Regions from separate parts of the Homo sapiens genome. Here region 1 is linked to region 2. The links are contacts of gene promoters, found by promoter capture Hi-C in human tissues and cell types (Jung and others, 2019). All regions are on one chromosome and are shown on one strand. The core of a region is centred on a gene start or on the middle of the fragment in contact, and the rest is flanking DNA. Distances in the headings are between cores, read along the strand shown. Region 1 holds the start of RFX1 (regulatory factor X1). Region 2 holds the start of GIPC1 (GIPC PDZ domain containing family member 1).

Evidence for each region. The method cuts DNA at HindIII sites, captures the fragments that hold promoters and counts their contacts. A contact is called where the count stands out against the background at its distance.
Region 1: the fragment with the promoter of RFX1 here is called in contact with the fragment with the promoter of GIPC1 in region 2 in 2 of the 25 tissues and cell types used here (dorsolateral prefrontal cortex and spleen).

Annotation. Positions count from the first base shown.
Region 1 is chr19:14,004,910-14,010,314 of GRCh38, reverse strand. It overlaps RFX1 (regulatory factor X1), which reads left to right and starts at 3,995. Exons shown (of 21, transcript NM_002918.5): 1 at 3,995-4,212. RefSeq lists enhancers at 3,185-3,712, 3,713-4,240, 4,241-4,769 and silencers at 3,964-4,143, 4,194-4,573. The HindIII fragment of the contact is 30,728 bases long and covers 1-5,405 here.
Region 2 is chr19:14,491,767-14,497,777 of GRCh38, reverse strand. GIPC1 (GIPC PDZ domain containing family member 1) reads left to right here and starts at 1,651. Exons shown (of 9, transcript NM_005716.4): 1 at 1,651-1,741; 2 at 4,866-4,921. RefSeq lists enhancers at 1-129, 1,410-2,336 and silencers at 1,318-1,377, 1,518-1,747. The HindIII fragment of the contact is 12,252 bases long and covers 1-6,011 here.

The DNA of each region.
Region 1 (5,405 bases), core at 2,746-5,245, 490 kb after region 2:
CACCACACTCAGCCTTATTTCTTGATGATATGCTAAACAAGGGGTGGATTATTCCATGCCTCTTGTTTTTAGTCCATATAAAGTAACTTCCTGGCGTTGCCATGGCATTTGTAAACTGTAATGGTGCTGGTGGGAGTGTAGCAGTGAGGACCAGACGTTACTCTCATGGCCATCTTGGTTTTGGTGGGTTTGAGCCAGCTTCTTTACTGCAACCTGTTTTATCAGCAAGGTCTTTATTTATGTATTTTTCTAAATTATTTTTAAAATTTTTATCTTTTTTGAAACAGAGTCTCACAATGTCACCCAGGCTGGAGTGCAGTGGCGCGATCCTGGCACACTGCACTCTCCACCTCCCGGGTTCAAGTAATTCTGCCTCAGCCTCCCTAGTAGCTGGGATTACAGGCGCACGCCACCACACCCGGCTAATTTTTGCATTTTTAGTACAGATGGGGTTTCACCATGTTGGCCAGGCTGGTCTCAAAATCCTGACCTCGTGATCTGCCCACCTTAGCCTCCCAAAGTGACGGGATTACAGGCGTGAGCCACCACGCCCGGCGAGGTCTTTATTTTTATTTATTTATTTATTTATTTATTTATTTATTTATTTATTTATTTGAGATGGAGTCTCACTCTGTCACCCAGGCTGGAGTGCAGTGGGGTGATCTCGGCTCACTGCAACCTCTGCCTCTCGGGTTCGAGCGATTCTCCTGCCTCAGCCTCCAAGTAGTTGAGATTACAGGTGCCCACCACCACGCCCATCTAATTTTCGTATTTTTATTAGAAATCGGGTTTTGCCATGTTTTCCATACTGGTCTCGAACTCCTGACCTCAAGTGATCCGCCCACTTCCGCCTCCCAAACTGTTCGGATTATAGGCATGAGCCACTGCACCCAGCCAGCAAGGTCTTTATGAACTGTATTTTGCGCTGACCTCCTGTCTTATCCTGTGACTAAGAATGCCTTAACCATTTAGGAATGAAGCCTAGCAGGTCTCAGCCTCATTTTACCCAGTTCCTGTTCAAGATGGAGTTGCTCTGGTTCACACGCCTCTGGCAGAGAGGGCACCTACTTCCTCTCTCTGGGCATCCATTGCCCACCTGTCAAGAGCGGGGAGCGTCCCACTTTGCTGGGTTCGCTGGGAATTATGTGGCTATTATTACCTCTACAACCTTATCTCTCCTGGCTTTAGCAGAAGTTCCTGTTCCCAGCTTTGAAGGCAGTTCTCTCCCCCCGTTTTTTTTTTTTTTTTTTGAGACGGAGTCTCACTGTGTTGCCCAGGCTGGAGTACAGTGGCGCGATCTTGGCTCACTGCAACCTCTGCCTCCCAGGTTCAAGTGATTCTCCCACCTCAGCCTCCCCAGTAGCTGGGACTACAGGCACGTGCCACCACACCGACCTATTTTAGTATTTTTAGTAGAGACAGGATTTCGCCGTGTTGGCCAGACTGTTCTGGAACTCCTGAACTTGGCCTCCCAAAGTGCTGGGATTACAGGCATGAGCCATCATGACCGGCCCCTCCACCTGGATTTATGAGGCTTGCTTCGTCTCTCACCACTCAGGCTCATTCTGTGGGACATCCCCCCTCAGATAACACTGGCTACAGCATCCTCTCATTCTCCTACCCCACTCTCTTATGTTGCTCTCAGGACTCTAAGGAGCCTATCTTACAATTTATCTGTTTATTGTGTATCCCATCCTAGAATGCAAAGGGAGTTGTTTGCTTTCTTTTTTTTCCTTTTTTTCTTTTTTTTCTGAGACTCAGGCTGGACCACACAATCATTGCTTACTGCAGCCTCTACCTCCGGAGCTGAACCAATCCTGCCAGCCTCAGCCTCCAGAGTAGCTGGGACCACAGGCACATGCCACCACGCCTAGCTAATTGCTTTTTTTTTTTTGAGACAAAGTCTCGCTCTGTCGCCCAGGCTGGAGTGCAGTGGCAGAATCTTGGTTCACTGCAACCTCCCCCTCCCGGGTTCAAGCAATCCTCCTACCTCAGCCTCCGGAGTAGCTGGGATTACAGGCATACACTACCATGCCCAGCTAATTTTTGTAGAGACGGGTGTCTTGCTTTGTTGCCAAGGCTGGTCTTGAACTCCTTGGCTCAAGCAATCTTCCTTGCTTGGCCTCCCAAAGTGCTGGGATTACAGGTGTGAGCCACCATAAATGAAGTCACCTTTCTTCACTTGTATAGCCCAGGGCCTTGCACCGAGGAAATATAATGTTGGTTGAATTAGGAAACAAACTTAGGTGGAGTCACTTTCTGAATGCCACACAGCAGGGCTGGCATTAGACTTCAGGGCTGTCTGAGCCTGTTTTCTTTTCCCCTTGCTGTTCTAGGGCCTACCTGGGATGAGAATGCAAAATTTAAGAGAAGGCCAAAGAGCTCAGTCATAAGATAATTGACATTTAAAACATAAAAAGTAGGCCGGGCGTGGTGGCTCACGCCTGTAACCCCAGCACTTTGGGAGGCCGAGGCGGGCGGATCACGAGGTCAGGAGATCGAGACCATCCTGGCTAACACGGTGAAACCCCGTCTCTACTAAATATACAAAAAATTAGCCGGGCGTGGTGGCGAGCACCTGTAGTCCCAGCTACTCGGGAGGCTGAGGCAGGAGAATGGCGTGAACCTGGGAGGCGGAGCTTGCAGTGAGCCGAGATTGCGCCACTGCACTCCAGCCTCAGCGACAGAGTGAGACTCCGTCTCAAAAAATAATAATAATAAATTTATTTTAAACACAAGATCTGACCCTGAGCTTGCATAACGCATCTCACCTTAATCCCTGTGTTGGCGGATCCTGTCTTTATTTAAAATTGTGATGTTTTGTTCATCATAGATTTATTTTTTCCCATTAATTTGGATATTTAACAAATATTGAATTAGAAGATTATTTATCTTGATGACTGAGTTTTTGCTCCCAAGATGTTCACCCTAGTCCGGGCCCTGTTTCTGTCTCTTCTCGTCCTGCAGCACCCAGACAGTCCCTTGAGGAAACTGAGGCACAGAGGAGCGTATGTGTGGGAGGTGTGTGTGTGTGGCGGGGGTTGTGGTGAGCTCTCCTGGGCGGACCAAGCTCCCTGGGCTGGGTCGGGGCTGACCTTTGCTTATCTACCGCGGTTGAAGCCGCGAATGAAGTCCCCCGCCTTGCAGAGACCTTTCCCAAGGCGGCCGCACCGCCTGCGGGGCAGAGATAGCCGCGGTCACCCCGGCAGCGGTGACCTTTTCCGGCTGGAGGGGACCGGGAGGCGGGAGAAGGCGCGGCGGCCGCGCTGTCTGGCCGGCTTGGGCGGAGGAGGATGTCACCCCAGCGGGTGGGAGCTGGGATCGAACCCCGCCGCGGCCTCCCGCTTCCACCCAACCCCGACGGGGCCATGGGCAGTGGGGAAGGGGGACGCGCGCCCAGTGACGTCATCGAATCCCGAGTCCGGCCTTCGCCGCTGTCGTCACAGAGGGGCTGCGCTGCGTCACTGCATTCCTCCCCTGACGTCAGCGCAAGAAGCCAGAAACTGGCCCACCGAGCGAGAGAGAAGTCTGGAGCGGAGTCTTCCTTTCTCGCCTTTTTAATTTGGTAAGACATGTAAAGTGTACGCAAGAGCGGACTACAACTCCCAATCGGCCTTGCGTGCCGAGCATGCGCACGGCCTCCAGCCAGAGAGCGCGGCAAACCTTTGGTAGATTGACGTCCCTTTAGTCGAACCAGGAGGCCGGTTTTACATCGGCAAACCAATCCCGTCCTCACGAGTCCTACCCCTTTATTCTTAACCAGCTGCTTCCCTGCCGGAGTGACGGGCCCGGCTGCCTTTGAGGGTTCAGTTTCTTTTGATGGACATTCATACTGATAAATCAGATCGCCGGGAAGTCCAGAGGGTGTTGAAAAGCGTGCATCGGAACTAATAGTTTAGCTGCAAGGCCTGGCGCCGTCCAATCACTTCTCCGGCCGCCGCCAATCACCCCGGGCCCCGCCCCCGCGCGTGACGTAACTAGGGTGGGTAGCAACAGTTGCCCCGGTGAGGGAAACGGAGGCGCCATAGCCACGGTAGTCGTGGCGACCAAGCAACCCGGCAACGCGAGTCAACAACAACAACCGCCCGGCCGACCCCCACCCCCACCCCCCAGGCCCGGCCCGGGGACCCCAGCACGTCCCGTCCCCTTCCCAACATCGACTCCGAGACCTCCGAAAAGCGTTTCCGCAGACAGAAGTGGGGAGAAGCGGAGGTAACCAGGGCGGCCCCGGGGTGGCTGGCCGGGCCGGGGTGGGCGGCGGGGCCGGGGCAGTAGGTGTCTCTGTAATCACAGTCCGGGGGGAAGGGGCGGGCGGTCAAAATGGCGGCGGCGACTGTCTGGACCGTGGGGGAGGGGGCCGGGGCCCGGCTGGAACGACACCACCCGCCCCCGTCCCCGCGGCCCGGCCCCCGCGAGGGGCGGGCGCTCGCAGGCCCGCGGCGAGTGGAGGTCGGCAGGCCGGGGCGGGGGGCTTTTATATGTCGGGAGCGCGAAGGGGCGGGCCTGGGGAGGCTGGGCCAATGGGAGCGAGGGAGGTACGAGGCGGGGCCAAGGTGGGTGGGCGGGACCAGGAGGGAAGGTATGGGCGGGGCCGGCTGGGTCTCCCCAACCTCCACCTCGGGAACCAGGGTGGGCAGCCACCACCCGGTCCGCCTTCCAGATCCTTAAGCGACTCCCTTCTTCCTTAAGAGCTTTGCAGTTGTCCCAGGACTCAGAACTTGGACAAGTGCCTGTCCATCTGAGGCCTCAGTTTTCCATCCTGTAAAATGGGGAGAATCATTGACATCGCCCTTTTCCTGCAGTACCGGGACTCCTCATTCCTTCCAGGAATTTTACTTACGGCTTATCTTTGAACCTTTTCCTCGTATCTACCGTTTCTGAATGTGGTTTGATAAAATAACTGTCAGCTAGTCCTGATTTCAACACTGCAGCCCACTCCTAAACCTGCCACCTTCTCTCTGGGAGGAAGCAAAGAGGAAGCAAAGTTTCATGGAGGAGCTAGGAGTCGATTTGGCTTTAGCGTGGAGGATCTGGTTTGCAGAAATCAAAGTCCATGGTAGGGAGGAGTGACCATGAGGGAATGCTTTAGAGGAACAGAAACCTGAGTGCTTTTCTCTGGGCTGCTGTTTGAGACCTGATGTTTCCTGGTTTGAGGTTGCGGGGGTTTGTTCCTGGAGATGGAACGTTTCTGGGTCCTGCCCATCGAGGTCTCCCCTACTGGGAATGGGGGAGCAAATGAAGCCTGAGGAAGTTTCTTAGATTTTTTAAACCCGCTTCTCTTGGCCAGACACATGTTTTTGTGTCAAACGAGTGTCAACCGAGTCACATGTCACTGACAAGGTCCCAGCCTCTAGGGCCACGTGGGCAGGAGCGGTCAGAGGGAAGGGGAAGCTATCCATGTTTGT
Region 2 (6,011 bases), core at 402-2,901:
TGTCCCCTGGGCTCAGCATCCCGTCCTCTCCAAGTGTGCAGGGGGCAGCTTAGATGCCAGGCTCAAGCAGGGCAGGCAGCACAGTCCCACAGAGGGTACTGGCCAGCCCAGGCAACTGATTGCTCAGTGGGATGGCAGAGGTCAGCAGAACAGGAAGGGACGGACAATAGCTGTGCCTGTTGCCTGGCCTGCCACAGCAATCTCGGTGTTTGCCAGCTGGGTGGGGCTGGCTAGGCAATCCTCAGCAGCAAAGCTCAAGGTTCCATCTCCCATTTTAGTTTGCCCCTCTGCAGGTCCTGGTGGGACTGATATGCACAACATCTCACCCTGGGAACTGCAAAGAACCAGTCTTTCTATGGAGCTTGAGCAGGGTCTCAGCACTTAGAGGCTTCCAGGAACTACAGTTCCCAGAACACACAGCATTCAGCCCCAGTTGCTGTCCAAGTGGCTGGGTTTGAACTAGAACAAGGAAATCTCACTTGTCCCGGGAACTGAGCGTCCTGGCCTGGTCCAGGTGCATTTGTGACTCTTGTTTCTTGGATCTGTGTCCACCTGATAAATCCCCCTTCCTTATAAACTACATGGTCTATTTGTCCACACAGGTTTGCTGAGAACCTGCCGTGTGGCAGCCTGAGGTGGGAGTGAGGGGTTGACAAGAGAGACTCAGCCTCCACCCTCACAGTCAGATGGAGGAGACAGATCTATGAAAGGCTGGCTGGGTACCTTCTGTGACCTAGCACATAAACAAACCAACAAGCAGATAAACTATCTCACCCTTGTCTTTCATTGCATCTTGCCTTTCCACACTGATTTACTAGCTCCCACGATATTGCAGTATCCTAAAGCGTGCTGTATCTCTCTGTCCGGCTTTTGCACGCTCTGTTACCTCTACCAGGAGCACATTCAGCTTATTCACTGACGCGTCTTCAGAGGTAGGACAGAGTCTGGCACGGAGCAGTCTGGCACATTAAATATTTGATGAGTGAGTGAACGAATGAATGAATGAATGCCTTTGTCCATTGTACAGCCCAGGAAGCAGGGAAACTCGGGACCCTCCCTATTCATCTCGATCCCCCGCCCGCCCCCAGAGATTGAATGCATCTTTTTATCCGCTCCGAGGATGGCCAGGCTGGGGCAGAGGAGGCCGGGCAGGGAACTGGGTTGGGGACTGCCATTGACCCCCACCCAGGTCTCCTAAACTGTCCGCTTTCCTGGACGTCGGAAGTTCGAATCCTTTCCCCGAAACCTGGCCTAGGTCACCTGACTCCCCCGCCCCTCACCACCCAGGGCACCCGAGACTGACACTCAGCCGACAGCACGTGGTTCAGGGGCCCCAGCTTCCTTCCCATTGGCCGCTTGTCTCCTTCCTCCCTCGCGATTGGCCGGGGCCCAGCTGCAGCTCCCCCCCCTCCTCAGCCCTCCGGTGGTACAGCCAGCCGCGGCTTAGGCGGGGCGGAACGGTCCACTGCTTCGCGGCGAGGGGAGGAGTCGGGAAGAGCCGGGCGAGGCGGAGGGATCCCTCTGGAATGTTTCCGTCGGGTCCACCCGAAGCGGAAGACGCGGATTGGCTGCGAGCACCGAGAGGCAGCCGCTGATTGGCCGGCCGCGGGCGTCGGCCCCGCCCCCCAGGCGCCGCTGCGGGAGAGGCCCGGTCTGGAGTTTGCGGAGGGCCGAGCCGGGTGCGCACGGGGAGGCGGAGGCAGCGGCGGCGGCGGCGGCGGCGGCGGCGGCGGCGGAGCAGGTGAGTGGCCTCTGCGAGAAGGATGTGTCTGCTCCGGGGGCCTCGGGGGTCGCGGGCCTGCGAGGATCCGGCCGATCCTGCAGGGTGGGGCCGGCGCCGTGGACGCGACTGGAGGTCTAGGCTGCGCGCGGGGATGCCGGAGGCCCCTTCCCAGGGGAAGCGGGGGTGGGGGGTGGTGGGGGCAGCTCCCTTCCTGCTGGCGGGCAGGGGACAAACGCCTCCCAACGCTGGGCTGGGGTTTCTGGGCTTGCCCCTCCCCCCGTCCCCCGGCTGGACTGTCCCCATCCCAGCGTGGACAGGCGCGGGGTCAGTGTTTCTGACCCTTTCCTGGGCACTTCCCCTGAGCTAACCGCGTCTGAACCCTCCAGGGCCTTGGGGGGGACGCAGTGAGGACCACGGTCTGAATAATAATCGTCATGAAAAACTCCACCTCAGCTAGCATTTATTGGAGAGCTTCCGTGTCAGGCATTTACCATGAGGATAATTGACTCTAAACACCTCATGGGAGGTGCTGTGCCTTCTTGTAAAAAAGGTGAGGCAGCCTACCCAGAGAGGTGGAGTGACTTGCCCAAGGTCACACAGCTAGTAACTGGCACATCTGGGACTGGAACTCATGCCCCAGGGTCCAGAACTGGAGTCACACCCACTAGACTGGATACCAATAACTCCACGGCTCAGTTGTTGCTGAGTAGCTCCGGCCCCCTACCCCTCCCACCCCCTACCCCGTACTCATCATCAGGGCCACACCTGCTGGTCTTTTGCTTTACCAGCCACTCAAACAGGAAGCTGCCCTCCTTTCCCTTCTCCCCAGAGCTGGAGAGGGCAGGTCTAACTACCTGGGTCCAGAGAAGAGAGTGGCGTCTGCAGGGGGCCAGGATGCTGGGGTCTGGGCCCACTGGGTTCCCCCCTGGCAACCTGGGCCGAGGCTGGGAAGTAGGCGTTCTCCCCGGAAACACCCAGGAGCCGGTTTTTCAAGAGTGAATCAGAGGCCTCTTTCCCTCCTTCTCTCCAAAGCAACACTGTGCTGGAACGGGGAGCCTGGGCGTGGTTTCCCCCTTCCCCTAGCTTCTGTGTGCTCCCAGGAACCCCCTTCCCCTCCTCCTGCTGGCCACACTGCTTCTGTGTGGCCGTGGGGTTGCTAAGTTTCAGGCCCTTCCCAGGATGAGGGGGTGAGGATGCTGAAATTCCAGCCCAAACACTCAATATCCGGGCTGAAGTGGCTCTTCATCTCTGTGTTCAGGTGTGAGGGGAGCCAGGGAAAGTGGGGAGCCTAGGACAGTTGGCAACCGCACAGCAGGCATGTTTAGGGGGCTGTTTCAAGGATGGGGAGCACAGAGAGCAATCAGAACGAGGACCTGAGACACATTCATTCACTCAGTCTACAAATATTTAGTGAGCACCTGCTACGTGCATGTGCTAGGCACTGTTCTTGGCACAGAAAATGCAACAGTGAACAAAACAAAATCCCTACTTTTGAGGAGTTGGCACTCTGAAAGGAAGGAAGCAGCCAACAAACAAGTTAGCAAGTAAATAAAGAAGATAATTTCAGATGGCACTAACTGCTATGAATAAAATATGAGCGGGTGGTACTGTAGAGAGTAGTTGTGGGCAAGGGGTGCCAGCCCAGCAAAGATCAGGCAAGGGGGCCCGGGCGCGGTGGCTCACGCCTGTAATCCCAGCACTTTGGGAGGCCGAGGCGGGTGGGTTGCTTGAGGTCAGGAGTTTGAGACCAGCCTGGCCAACATGGGGAAACCCTGTCTCTACTAAAAATACAAAAATTGGCTAGGGGCATGGCTCACCCCTGTAATCCCAGCACTTTGGGAGGCTGAGACAGGTGGGTCAAGAGGTCAGGAGTTTGAGACCAGCCTGATCAACATGGTGAAACCCCCTCTCTCCTAAAAATATGAAAATTAGCTGGGTGTGGTGGCGCACGCCTGTAAGCCCAGCTACTCAGGAGGCTGAGGCAGGAGAATCGCTTGAACCCGGGAGGCGGAGGTTGCAGTGAGCTGAGATCGTGCCACTGCACTCCAGCCTGGGCTACAGAGCGAGACTCCATCTCAAAAAAAAATAAAAATAGGCCAGGCGTGGTGGCTTATGCCTGTAATCCCAGCACTTTGGGAGGCCGAGGCAGGCAGATCACCTGAGGTCAGGAGTTCAAGACCAGCCTGACCAACATGGAGAAACCCTGTCTCTACTAAAAATATAAAATAAGCTGGGCGTGGTGGCACATGCCTGTAATCACAGCTACATGGGAGGCTGAGGCAGGAGAGAATCGCTTGAACCCGGTAGGCAGAGGTTGCGGTGAGCCAAGATCGCGCCATTGCACTCCAACCTGGGCAACAAGAATGAAACTCCGTCTCAAAAATAAATAAATAAATAAAAATAAACAAATACAAAATAAAAATACAAAAATTAGCCGGATGTGGTGGTGCGTGCCTGTAATCCCAGCTACTCAGGAGGCTAGGGCAGAAGAATCGTTTGAACCCAGGAGGTGGAGGTTGCAGTGAGCTGAGATGGCGCCACTGCACTCCAACCTGGGTGACAGAGCAAGACTCCATCTCGAAAAAAAAAAAAGAGAGAGAGATGGGCAAGGCCAAGGTCTTTAGGCTGGACCAAGTTTGGAATCACATGGTTGGAGCAGAAGATGAACCCAGAGCAGCGATTCTGCAGGGGTTTGTGGGTCACAGTAAGGAGATTGCAGTTTTTCTTCCAGAAGGTGGGAAACTGTTGTAAAGTTTCAGGCAGGGCAGTGATGCCATCTGGTTTACGTTTTAAAATAGAGACATGAAGTTAAATGACAGCCTGAAGCTGGAAGACAAGAGTTCTGCCAGGGCAGCATGCAATTAAGTTCATGGGCCTGAGCCATCTGTACCACAGGGGCAGTTCCAGCATGCTGGGGCAAGCCTGGGAGGCTTCATGGAGGAGTGGGCCTGGAGTAGGTATTGGCAGGCAGAGAGGGTTGGGATATTCCTGGGCAGGGCAGGGCAGAGGAGGAGACACCCATAGTAATGACAACAGCGTCCTTAAATGGAGTCTGAGGCAGAGTGTAGATGGGATACGTGGGTAATCTCTTTGGATTTCCACAACCACCTTGAGAGTGACAGGAATTCCACCCATTTTTCAGATGAAGAAACTGAGGCCCTGTGATGTGAAGTGACTTGCCCCCCAGCCACACAGCTGGTAAGTGGCAGGGGTGGGATTTGAACCCAGGCCACGAAGCCTCTTATGGCCGTGGCAGGCAGATTCATTACTCACTCACTTTCCTCACTGCTGTTAATGCCTCCTCACGGGTGGGGACACGGAAGCTGGCATGAACCAGGGCAGTGGGGTGGGCAGAGAGAGAGAGTAAGGAGGCTGGGAATTGGTGGTCAGGATGTAGGGATCTTGGGAAAAGGAGGAAGCTTGAATCTTGGTACAGATGGCAGTAGCAAGGCCGGGTGCAGTGGCTCACGCCTATAATCCCAGCACTTTGGGAGGCCGAGGCAGGTGGATCACGAGGTCAGGGGATCGAGACCATCCTGGCTAACATGATGAAACAGCGTCTCTACTAAAAATACAAACAATTAGCTGGGCATGGTGGCGGGCACCTGTAGTCCCAGCTACTCGGGAGGCTGAGGCAGGAGAATGGCGTGAACCCGGGAAGCAGAGCTTGCAGTGAGCTGAGATCGTGCCACTGCACTCCAGCCTGGGCAACAGAGCGAGACTCCGTCTCAAAAAAAAAAACAAAAGATGGCAGTAGCAGTAATTGTCACCAATATTTATGCAACCCTTATTGTGTGCCAGGACTGTTCCAAGCACATGCATGATTTCCTTGGAGCTCAGAGAGGTTAAGACCCTTGCCCAAAGTCACACAGCTATTAAGAGATGAAGCCAGGTTCCAGATTCATGTTTTTAGTTTCCTGCCTCCCAGTGCGTAGAGCTGGCGGAATTGGAGGGATGATGAGGGGTCTTTTCTTTTTTCTTTTTTTTGAGATGGAGCCTCACTCTGTCACCCAGGCTGGAGTGCAGTGGCACGATCTTGGCTCACTGCAAACTCCACCTCCCGGGTTCATGCCATTCTCCTGCCTCAGCCTTCCGAGTAGCTGGGACTGCAGGCGCCCGCCACCACGCCTGGCTAATTTTGAAAATATATGGCTGGGCGTGGTGGCTCATGCCCACCTCGGCCTCCCGGAGTGTTAGGATTACAGGCGAGAGCCACCACACCCGGCCGACACTGATTTTTCTTTCCAGCGAGGTCAGAGCCCGGGGAGGGGTCAGAGCAGAGACAAAT